3 separate regions of the Homo sapiens genome follow, and regions 1 and 2 are each linked to region 3. The links are contacts of gene promoters, found by promoter capture Hi-C in blood cells and fetal thymus (Javierre and others, 2016). All regions are on one chromosome and are shown on one strand. Each heading gives the region's core, a stretch centred on a gene start or on the middle of the fragment in contact. The rest is flanking DNA. Distances are from core to core; before and after follow the strand shown. Region 1 has its middle 25 kb from the start of NUP160. Region 2 has its middle 59 kb from the start of NUP160. Region 3 holds the start of PTPRJ (protein tyrosine phosphatase receptor type J).

Evidence for each region. The method cuts DNA at HindIII sites, captures the fragments that hold promoters and counts their contacts. A CHiCAGO score of 5 or more calls a contact.
Region 1: a contact is called between a fragment that was not itself captured here and the fragment with the promoter of PTPRJ in region 3, in 6 of 17 cell types (total B cells, M2 macrophages, activated CD4 T cells and 3 more). The highest score is 6.1, in total B cells.
Region 2: a contact is called between a fragment that was not itself captured here and the fragment with the promoter of PTPRJ in region 3, in 1 of 17 cell types (M2 macrophages). The highest score is 6.2, in M2 macrophages.

Annotation. Positions count from the first base shown.
Region 1 is chr11:47,872,495-47,875,194 of GRCh38, forward strand. No RefSeq gene overlaps it. Among named protein-coding and RNA genes, the nearest start is that of NUP160, 25 kb to the left of the region's middle. The HindIII fragment of the contact is 2,702 bases long and covers 1-2,633 here.
Region 2 is chr11:47,906,096-47,908,795 of GRCh38, forward strand. No RefSeq gene overlaps it. Among named protein-coding and RNA genes, the nearest start is that of NUP160, 59 kb to the left of the region's middle. The HindIII fragment of the contact is 4,554 bases long and covers 1-2,700 here.
Region 3 is chr11:47,979,258-47,982,023 of GRCh38, forward strand. It overlaps PTPRJ (protein tyrosine phosphatase receptor type J), which reads left to right and starts at 1,302. Exons shown (of 25, transcript NM_002843.4): 1 at 1,302-1,751. The coding sequence starts at 1,656. RefSeq lists silencers at 1,213-1,802, 1,903-2,332. The HindIII fragment of the contact is 2,862 bases long and covers 498-2,766 here.

The DNA.
Region 1 (2,700 bases), core at 33-2,532, 110 kb before region 3:
TAATTCCATGGGAACTGAAACCTGCTACTCAGGAATAAGCAGGAATTGCACCTAGTCCATTTGATAGTGAGGGTTATCTGGCTAGAGGATCTTATCCACCGGAGCAGAGTGGGGAGGAAAACTTGCTGTCAGGCCACTCAAGGCCCCCCACACCCAGTTCCAGTCAAGACAGCACATAATATTGATTTTAGGGTGGGGTGTGGTGGCTCATGCCTGTAATCACAGCACTTTGGGAGGCCGAGGCGGTGGATCATGAGGTCAGGAGATCGAGACCATCCTGGTCAGCATGGTGAAACCCTGTCTGTACTAAAAATACAAAAAATTAGCTGGGCGTGGTGGCGGGCACATGTGGTCCCAGCTACTCGGGAGGCTGAGGCAGGAGAATGGTGTGAAACCGGGAGGTGGAGCTTGCAGTGAGCTGAGATTGCACCACTGCACTCCAGCCTGGGCGACAGAGCCAGACTCCATCTCAAAAAAAAAAAAAAATTGATTTTAGGCCTTACATCACACTACTGACACATGCAGGGAATCAGAGTCAGGTTATGTAGCCCCTCTGGAAACAATAATGTGACTCCAAAGACATAAATGTAAGTTGATTAGAAGTCTTTTTTTTTTTTTTTTTTTTTTCCGAGACAGAGTTTCCCTCTTGTTGCCCAGGCTGGAGTGCAATGGCGTGATCTCAGCTCACCACAACCTCTCCCTTCCAGGTTCAAGCAATTCTCCTGCTTCAGCCTTCTGAGCAGCTGGGACTATAGGCACCTGCCACCAAGCCCAGCTAATTTTTGTATTTTTAGTAGAGACAGGGTTTCACCATGTTGGTCAGGCTGGTCTCAAATTCCTGACCTCATGATCTGCCCGCCTTGGCCTCCCAAAGTGCTGGGATTACAGCCGTGAGCCACTGTGCCTGGCCAGAAGTCTTAAATAGAAAGAAAGAATGTATTCATTAAATAAGGATTTGATCAAACCAGAAGATGGAACATTTCCTGTTCTTTCAAGCACTGACCAGGAAGACTCAGCCAACATACTTGTAGGATTTCTGGTCCCATTGACTAGTCACCCTTGTTGTGGAGATGGAAGCATCTGATTAGGAGAGTCCGATGCCATTCGCCTTTAAGTCCTTGTTCTCCGCAGCAAGCACCTTCTCATTCATTCATTTGCATTCAACAGATTTATTCAAAGCTGACTTTTTTTTTTTTTTGAGATGGAGTCTTGCTCTGTCGCCCAGGCTGGAGTGCAGTAGCGCAATTTCAGCTCACTGCAGCCTCCACCTTCCAGTTTCAAGCGATTCTCCCTGCCTCAGCCTCCCGAGTAGCTGGGATTGCAGGCACCTGCCACCACAGCTGGCTAATTTTTGTATTTTTATTAGAGATGGGGTTTTGCCATGTTGGCCAGGCTGGTCTTAAACTCCTGACCTCAGGTGATCTGCCACCCTCAGCTTCTCAAAGTGCTGGGATTACAGGCATGAGCCATCGTGCCTGGGCACATTATGATTTATTTTAAAAGAGCACTTAAATGTCATATGGAAAATAACCATTTTTAGCTTTGAGGAAGGAGCCAGAGTAAGGTAGGGACACCAGCTAGGAGTTTCTACAGGAGTCCAGATGAGAAATGATAGTTGCTTAGAACAGGGTAGCTGACTGGAGAGAAGTGGACGAATCTGAAACATACTTTTGAAGTACAATCCTTCTGACTTGTTGGTGGGTTGGATGGGGTAGGAGAGAATGGGGGAAAGAGGAGGAAAGTATGGCTCCCAGGTTTCTGGTTGGAATGGTGGGCAAGAATGATGGAGTAAAGATTAGAGGAGTAGATTAAGAACTAAGTTTTGGGCCAGGCGCAGTGGCTCACACCTGTAACCCCAGCACTTTGGGAGCCCCAGGTGGGTGGATCACCTGAGGTGAGGAGTTCAAGACCAGCCTGACCAACATGGTGAAACCCTGTCTCTACTAAATACAAAAAATTAGCCGGGCATGGTGGCAGGTGCCTGTAATCCCAGTTACTTGGGAGGCTGAGGCAGGAAAATCACTTGAACCTGGGAGGCAAAGGTTGCAGTGAGCTAAGATTGTGCCACTGCACTCCAGCCTGGGCAACAAGAGCAAAACTCTGTCTCAAAAAAAATAAAATAAAATAAAAAAAGAAGAACTTACTTTTGGATATGTTGATATGTTAGTTTTTTGTTTTGTTTGTTTTTTGATATGTTAAAGATATCTTTTTTTAAAATTTATTTTTATTATTTATTTAGTTATTCATTTGAGACAAGATGGTGCAATCTTGGCTCACTGGTACCTCCACCTCCTGGACTCAAGCAATCCTCTTGGCTCAGCCTCCCAAGTAGCTGGGATTACAGGCACATGCCTCCATGCCCACCTAATTTAGTAGAGATGGGGTTTCACCATGTTGACCAGGCTGGTCTCAAACTCCTGACCTCAAGTGATAGGCCCACCTTGGCCACCCAAAATCCTGGGATTATAGGCATGAGCCACTGCGCCTGGTTGAGTTCAATGTGACCTTGAACTTCTGGGCTCAAACAATCCTCCTGAGTAGCTGGGACCACAGTCACGTGCCACTGCACCCAGCTGATTTAAAAAAACGTTTTGTATAGGTGGAGTCTTGCTTTGTCATCAAGGCTGGTCTCAAGCTTCAATCTATCCTCTCACCTTGGCCTCCCAAAGTGCTGGGATTACAGGCATGAGCCACTGTGCC
Region 2 (2,700 bases), core at 143-2,642, 73 kb before region 3:
GTTGTGGACCAGGGGTCAGCAAACTCTTTTATAAAAGGCCAGAAATAATATTTTAGGCTTTGTGGGGCATATAGTCTTGATCACAGCTGCTCAACTTTGCTGTTGTAGTACAAAACCACCACAGGCAGTAAATAAATGAGTGAGTGTGGCTGTGTCCTAATAAAATCTTATTTGCAAAAACAGGTGGCAGCAGGCTGGGCATGGTGGCTTGCGCCTGTAATCTCAGCACTTTAGGAGGCTGAGGGGGGCGGGTCGCTTGAGCCCAGGAGTTTGAGATGAGCCTGGACAACATGGCGAAATTCCGTCTCTACAAAAGAAAAAAAAAGCAAAAATTAGCTGGGCATGGTGGTGCACTCCTGTAGTCCCAGCTACTCAGAAGGCTTAGATGGGAGGATCACTTCATCCCAGGATGTTGAAGCTGCAGTGAGCCAGTGATCATGCCACTGCACTCCAGCCTGGGCAACAGAGTGAGACCCTGTCTCGAAAACACAAACAAACAAACAAACAAACAAACAAATGCAGATGGCAGCAGGTTTGGCCCACAGGTCATAGGTTGCTAAACCTTACTCTGTAATACCACAAGCAGAAAACTATGCATCTCCAAGAAATACCAAATCTGAAATAAGATGACAGAGCATGCAACTCCATAAAAGGGACCCCCCAGATTAAGCAGTCTTAAATCTCAGATCTGACTGTGTGTGTATGGTGGCTCACACCTGTAATCCCAGCACTTTGAGAGGCTGAGGTGGGTGGATCACTTGAGCTCAGGAGTTCGAGACCAGCCTGGGTAACATGGAAAAACCCCGTCTCTACAAAAAATACAAAAATTAGCCACTGTGGTGGTGGGCACCTGTAGTCCCAGCTACTTGGGAGGCTGAAGTGGGAGGATTGCTTGAGCCCAGGAGGCAGAGGTTGTAGTCAGCTGAGATCGCACCACTGCACTCCAGCCTGGGCCACAGAGCAAGATCCTGTCTCAGAAAAAAAAAAAATCTCAGATCTATTAATTACAAGTTGTGAAACTTTGGAAAAAAGCCATAACTTCTCTCATGCTCAGGCTTTTCATTTGTGATATGGAGATTATAAGACCTACCCTGCCTACCCCAGAATGATGGTGAAGTGCAAATGGATGATCGTGCATCAACAGCAAGCAGCTCTCATTACTATTGTGGAACTGCAGAAACGCCCTTATGAATTAAAGACTAAAGCTCTTCATGGACAAGATGGTGCTTATTCACTATTGAATCAATAGTGCCTCCCACATATTAGCACTCAGAATAAATTTATTGACTTTATAAATGAAATACATATTTCCTTCTTTCAAATCAAGGTGCCATTATTTGAACAGACCAGAGCAGTAGCAGCTGATAGTGAAACAATTTGAAAAAAGGACATGGACCATTGAATTTTTGCAGTTTTAGCTATATTCAGGGAATGTTTCTGGACCAAGGTGCTTACACAACTTTGGGCATGCAAAGATGAGCTCCCATCAGGACATTACATACACGTTTCCAACTCCCTTCAGATGTACTGGAAACATTCCGTCATTGAGGGGGATTTTCCCTTGGGCCTTTATTTCTCATCAGTAATATCCTCATTGCAAAAGAATCCTCAGCCATTTGACTGACTACTCCTGGGGCTTGCTCCAACACTATATCTTCCCATAGATGGACACGGCCATGTGTACAAACTCCCCAGACGCATCATGCTAGCTTGTTAAGGGTTTGTCTGGTGTTTTACGGGGCATTATTGCCAAAATGAAGGTTAAAGATACCAGTGTAATGAATATTACTAATGCCAGCTGGGCGCAGTGGCTCATGCCTGTAATTCCAACACTTTGGGAGGCCGAGGTGGGCGGATCACTTGAGGTCAGGAGTTTGAGACTAGCCTGGCCAACATGGTGAAACCCCGTCTCTACTTAAAAAAATATAAAAGTTAGCCGGGCATGGTGGCACATGCCTGTAATCCCAGCTACTCGGGAGGCTGAGGCACAAGAATCGCTTGAACCTGGGAGGTGGAGGTTGCAATGAGCTGAGATCGTGCCAATGCACTCCAGCCTAGGCAACAGGGGTGAGACTCTGTCTCAAAAAAAAAAAAAAAAGCATGAATATTACTGATGCCAATAAAAGGAAAATGAAACAAAAACCTTGGCGATTGTTGTATATTAAGTCAAACCGAATAGCCCATTTGTCTGTCTATTTGGAGGCAGCAGGAAATAGTGGAAAGATCATGTGTGTTAGAGCCAGGCAGACCTGAGTTAAAGTCATTACTAGAGCTATGAAAGAGTTATGTGGTCTTGCACAATTTACTTAACCTTAATGTTATCATCTCAAGGTTGTTGTGAAACGAGCTAGAACAGTGCTTCTGAAAACCACTCTTGGGCGAGAAAGGACAAATATTCTGATAGGTGGAGGCTGTTGTTGGCTGGGCAGTGTCCCCCAGAGGGGTCTACTACAGTGGCCTTTTCCCAGGGCTTTGCCTTCAACTTAGCACGTTTAGCAGCTATTATTACTATTATGGAACTGCAGAAACACCTTAGGAATTAAAGACTAAAGCTCTTCATGGAAGAGATATGGCTTATTCACTACTGAATCAGTGGCACTTGCCACATATTGGCTGAGACCACTCTTGGCTGAGAATAGATAAAAGGCACTCTTTTTCTTTTTCTTTTTTCTTTTTTGAGACAGAGTCTCTCTCTGTCAC
Region 3 (2,766 bases), core at 52-2,551:
GTGAATGTGTATTCCCATCTTGTAGATGGTAACCTGAGGCCCAACGGGTGTCTGGAGGTAGTGTTGGACACCTCGTGGTCTGCATCTTGCTGCACACAGAATCCAGCCTAGACTCATTATCCTGGCCTTTGAAGTCTCCCCCAGTATGAATCCCCCAGCCTCCCATTCCTGTTTCTCCGAAGGCCAAGCTCGAAGCATCTGCTGCCTCGTTTCTGCCAAGTTGGCCCCACCTCCTGAGACACTTCTCCCCTCTACTGGCCTGGTGAAACTCAACACATCCTTCAAAGCCCAGCTCAGGTGTCACCTCTCTCCTGGTTGGAATTAACCTCTTCCTCCTTAGCACTCTCTGGTTTGGCCCTTTCTCTTGCGGCTTCTCCTGGGCAAGTGGCATAGCCTCCCTGATCCTAGTGTCTTCCTCTGTGCATGGGCACAGGAGTAATATCTGCTGTGATCTTTAACTCCTGTCAGTTCATTGACCTCTTTAACAACGTGATGAAAGCTTCCAGAAGAGCTAATGTATGTGGAGTCCCACGATGTGTCAGGCTAGGTGTTTAGGACTTTACTAACTACTGTCTCGTTTAATCGCGAATGCAGTGGACCTCTCTCTCCACACGTCCTAGTACGATCTTTATTTCACACGGGAGGAGAGGAGGGTGGGTGGGGTCGGCCAGAGAGGAGAAATGCGTCTCCAGAGTTCACAGGGCTGGTACTACCAGCAGAGCCCCGTCCACCATATGCCACAGCTGGGGTTCTAATCCCTGGACTGGCTTGTACTGGGCTCTCTGCCTCCCTGGCCGGCGCTCGGGGGCTGGGGGACAGAACACAATGTACAGCGTGCCTTCTACAATTTCGGGGTTCACGCACCCCCAAGCCCACCCAGGGCCAGGTCAAACGCGCCTTCGCCGGGTTGCTGTCTACAATCAGGCTTGGCTGCGCTCTCAGTAGGGGTCTCGGTCAACCTCTGCCCACCCGAACCCGGCGCCGTGGACCTGGTGTGAGGCTGGGGAGCCCGTCCTGAGGGGTGCCGGCTCGAGGCGCTAGAGCCACGGAGCCTGGTCCCGGGCTCCAAGTCCCAGGAATGTGGGAGGGCTGGGCGGAGGGGCGGGCGAGGCGGGAGCGCTTCCTCTGCCCGCGGGAGGGGATCCGCGGCCGGCTCGGAGGGGGCGGGGGCAGCGGCGGGCGGCGGCGAGGGGCTGCGGAGCTCCGCAGCCGCCGGGCCGGCCGGGGCGGGAGGAAGCGATGAATATTCAGAGGGGGAGGGGAAGGGAGGGGGCCGAGCGCTCGCCGCGGCTCCCTGCAGCAGCCCCAGCCGCATGACGCGCGGAGGAGGCAGCGGGAGCAGCCGCGGGAGCCGGGACCGGGTAGCCGCGCGCTGGGGGTGGGCGCCGCTCGCTCCGCCCCGCGAAGCCCCTGCGCGCTCAGGGACGCGGCCCCCCCGCGGCAGCCGCGCTAGGCTCCGGCGTGTGGCCGCGGCCGCCGCCGCCGCTGCCATGTCTCCGGGGAAGCCCGGGGCGGGCGGAGCGGGGACGAGGCGGACCGGCTGGCGGAGGAGGAGGCGAAGGAGACGGCAGGAGGCGGCGACGACGGTGCCCGGGCTCGGGCGCACGGCGGGGCCCGATTCGCGCGTCCGGGGCACGTTCCAGGGCGCGCGGGGCATGAAGCCGGCGGCGCGGGAGGCGCGGCTGCCTCCGCGCTCGCCCGGGCTGCGCTGGGCGCTGCCGCTGCTGCTGCTGCTGCTGCGCCTGGGCCAGGTAAGCGCCGGGTGGGCTCGGGCGGGGGGCAGGAGGCTGGGGCGGGACTGGCATTGACTGCACCTGCCCGAGCGTACCCCCCCGGGGGGTTCCGGGGAAGGGGGCGGGGGTCCGGATCCCCGGATCCCCGGAAGGCGACTTGCGGGGACCCCGGCCGGCCTCGCACGCCGGCGATCGATCCCTTTTCCGGCTGCCCAGGATCGGGGGAGAGAGGCGGGATCCGGGTGCCGCGGTGCCCGAGCCTCCCGGGGAAAGCCTCCGCGCGGGCTCCAGGCCGTCCCTGGCCCGGCTCTTCCCGGCGCTGGGCACATCTGGCGGGCACGGGCCCGGCTTCCTAGCCGGAGGCGGCCGGAGGGGGCGTGTTTGCGGAGGTCTGGGGACGCAGAGCCGGGCGGCCTGGCTGAGCCTTTGCCGACAGACCTCCGACCCGGCCTGCAGGGGCCCGAGGGGCGGCGGGGGCGACAGGGCAGGGCCAGGCGCTGGGCAGTGGGGCCCTGGGCGAGGCGCGGGACTCCGGGCCGAGGGCCCTGTTCCTGGGGAAAGTTCCCAGGCCGGGGAAAAGGTGGCCGCACGCTGGCTTTTCTCAAGGCAGCCGGCCCTCTTGGCGTCGTGCTTGATTTCATGGGTGTTTAATTCGTGCTTTGTGGGCGCTGGCTCCCCCTCCCCACCCCACCCTCACCCTCTTTTCTGGCTTCACTTTTCAGATAATGCTGTCCCTGGCGTTTTGGTGACCGACCTTTCCCCTTCCTGGCATTTCCATAGGGGCTGAGGCAGAGCAGCTGAAGGGGCATTCCCATTTCACAGATGGGGAACTGAGGGAGAGAAGTGAAATAGCGGAGCACCCAGCCCGTGCCATGGGAGCTGAGCCAGCGGGCACGTCCTCTTAGCCTCTGGAGCCTGTTGGGGTTTGAACCCGCAGGGGAAGCGGTCTAGGGCTGCCTTGCTGTGCGTTTCTGCAAATGACCATCTTGCTTGTTTTATACAGACACCATCTCTGAGGAAATGAGTTATTGGC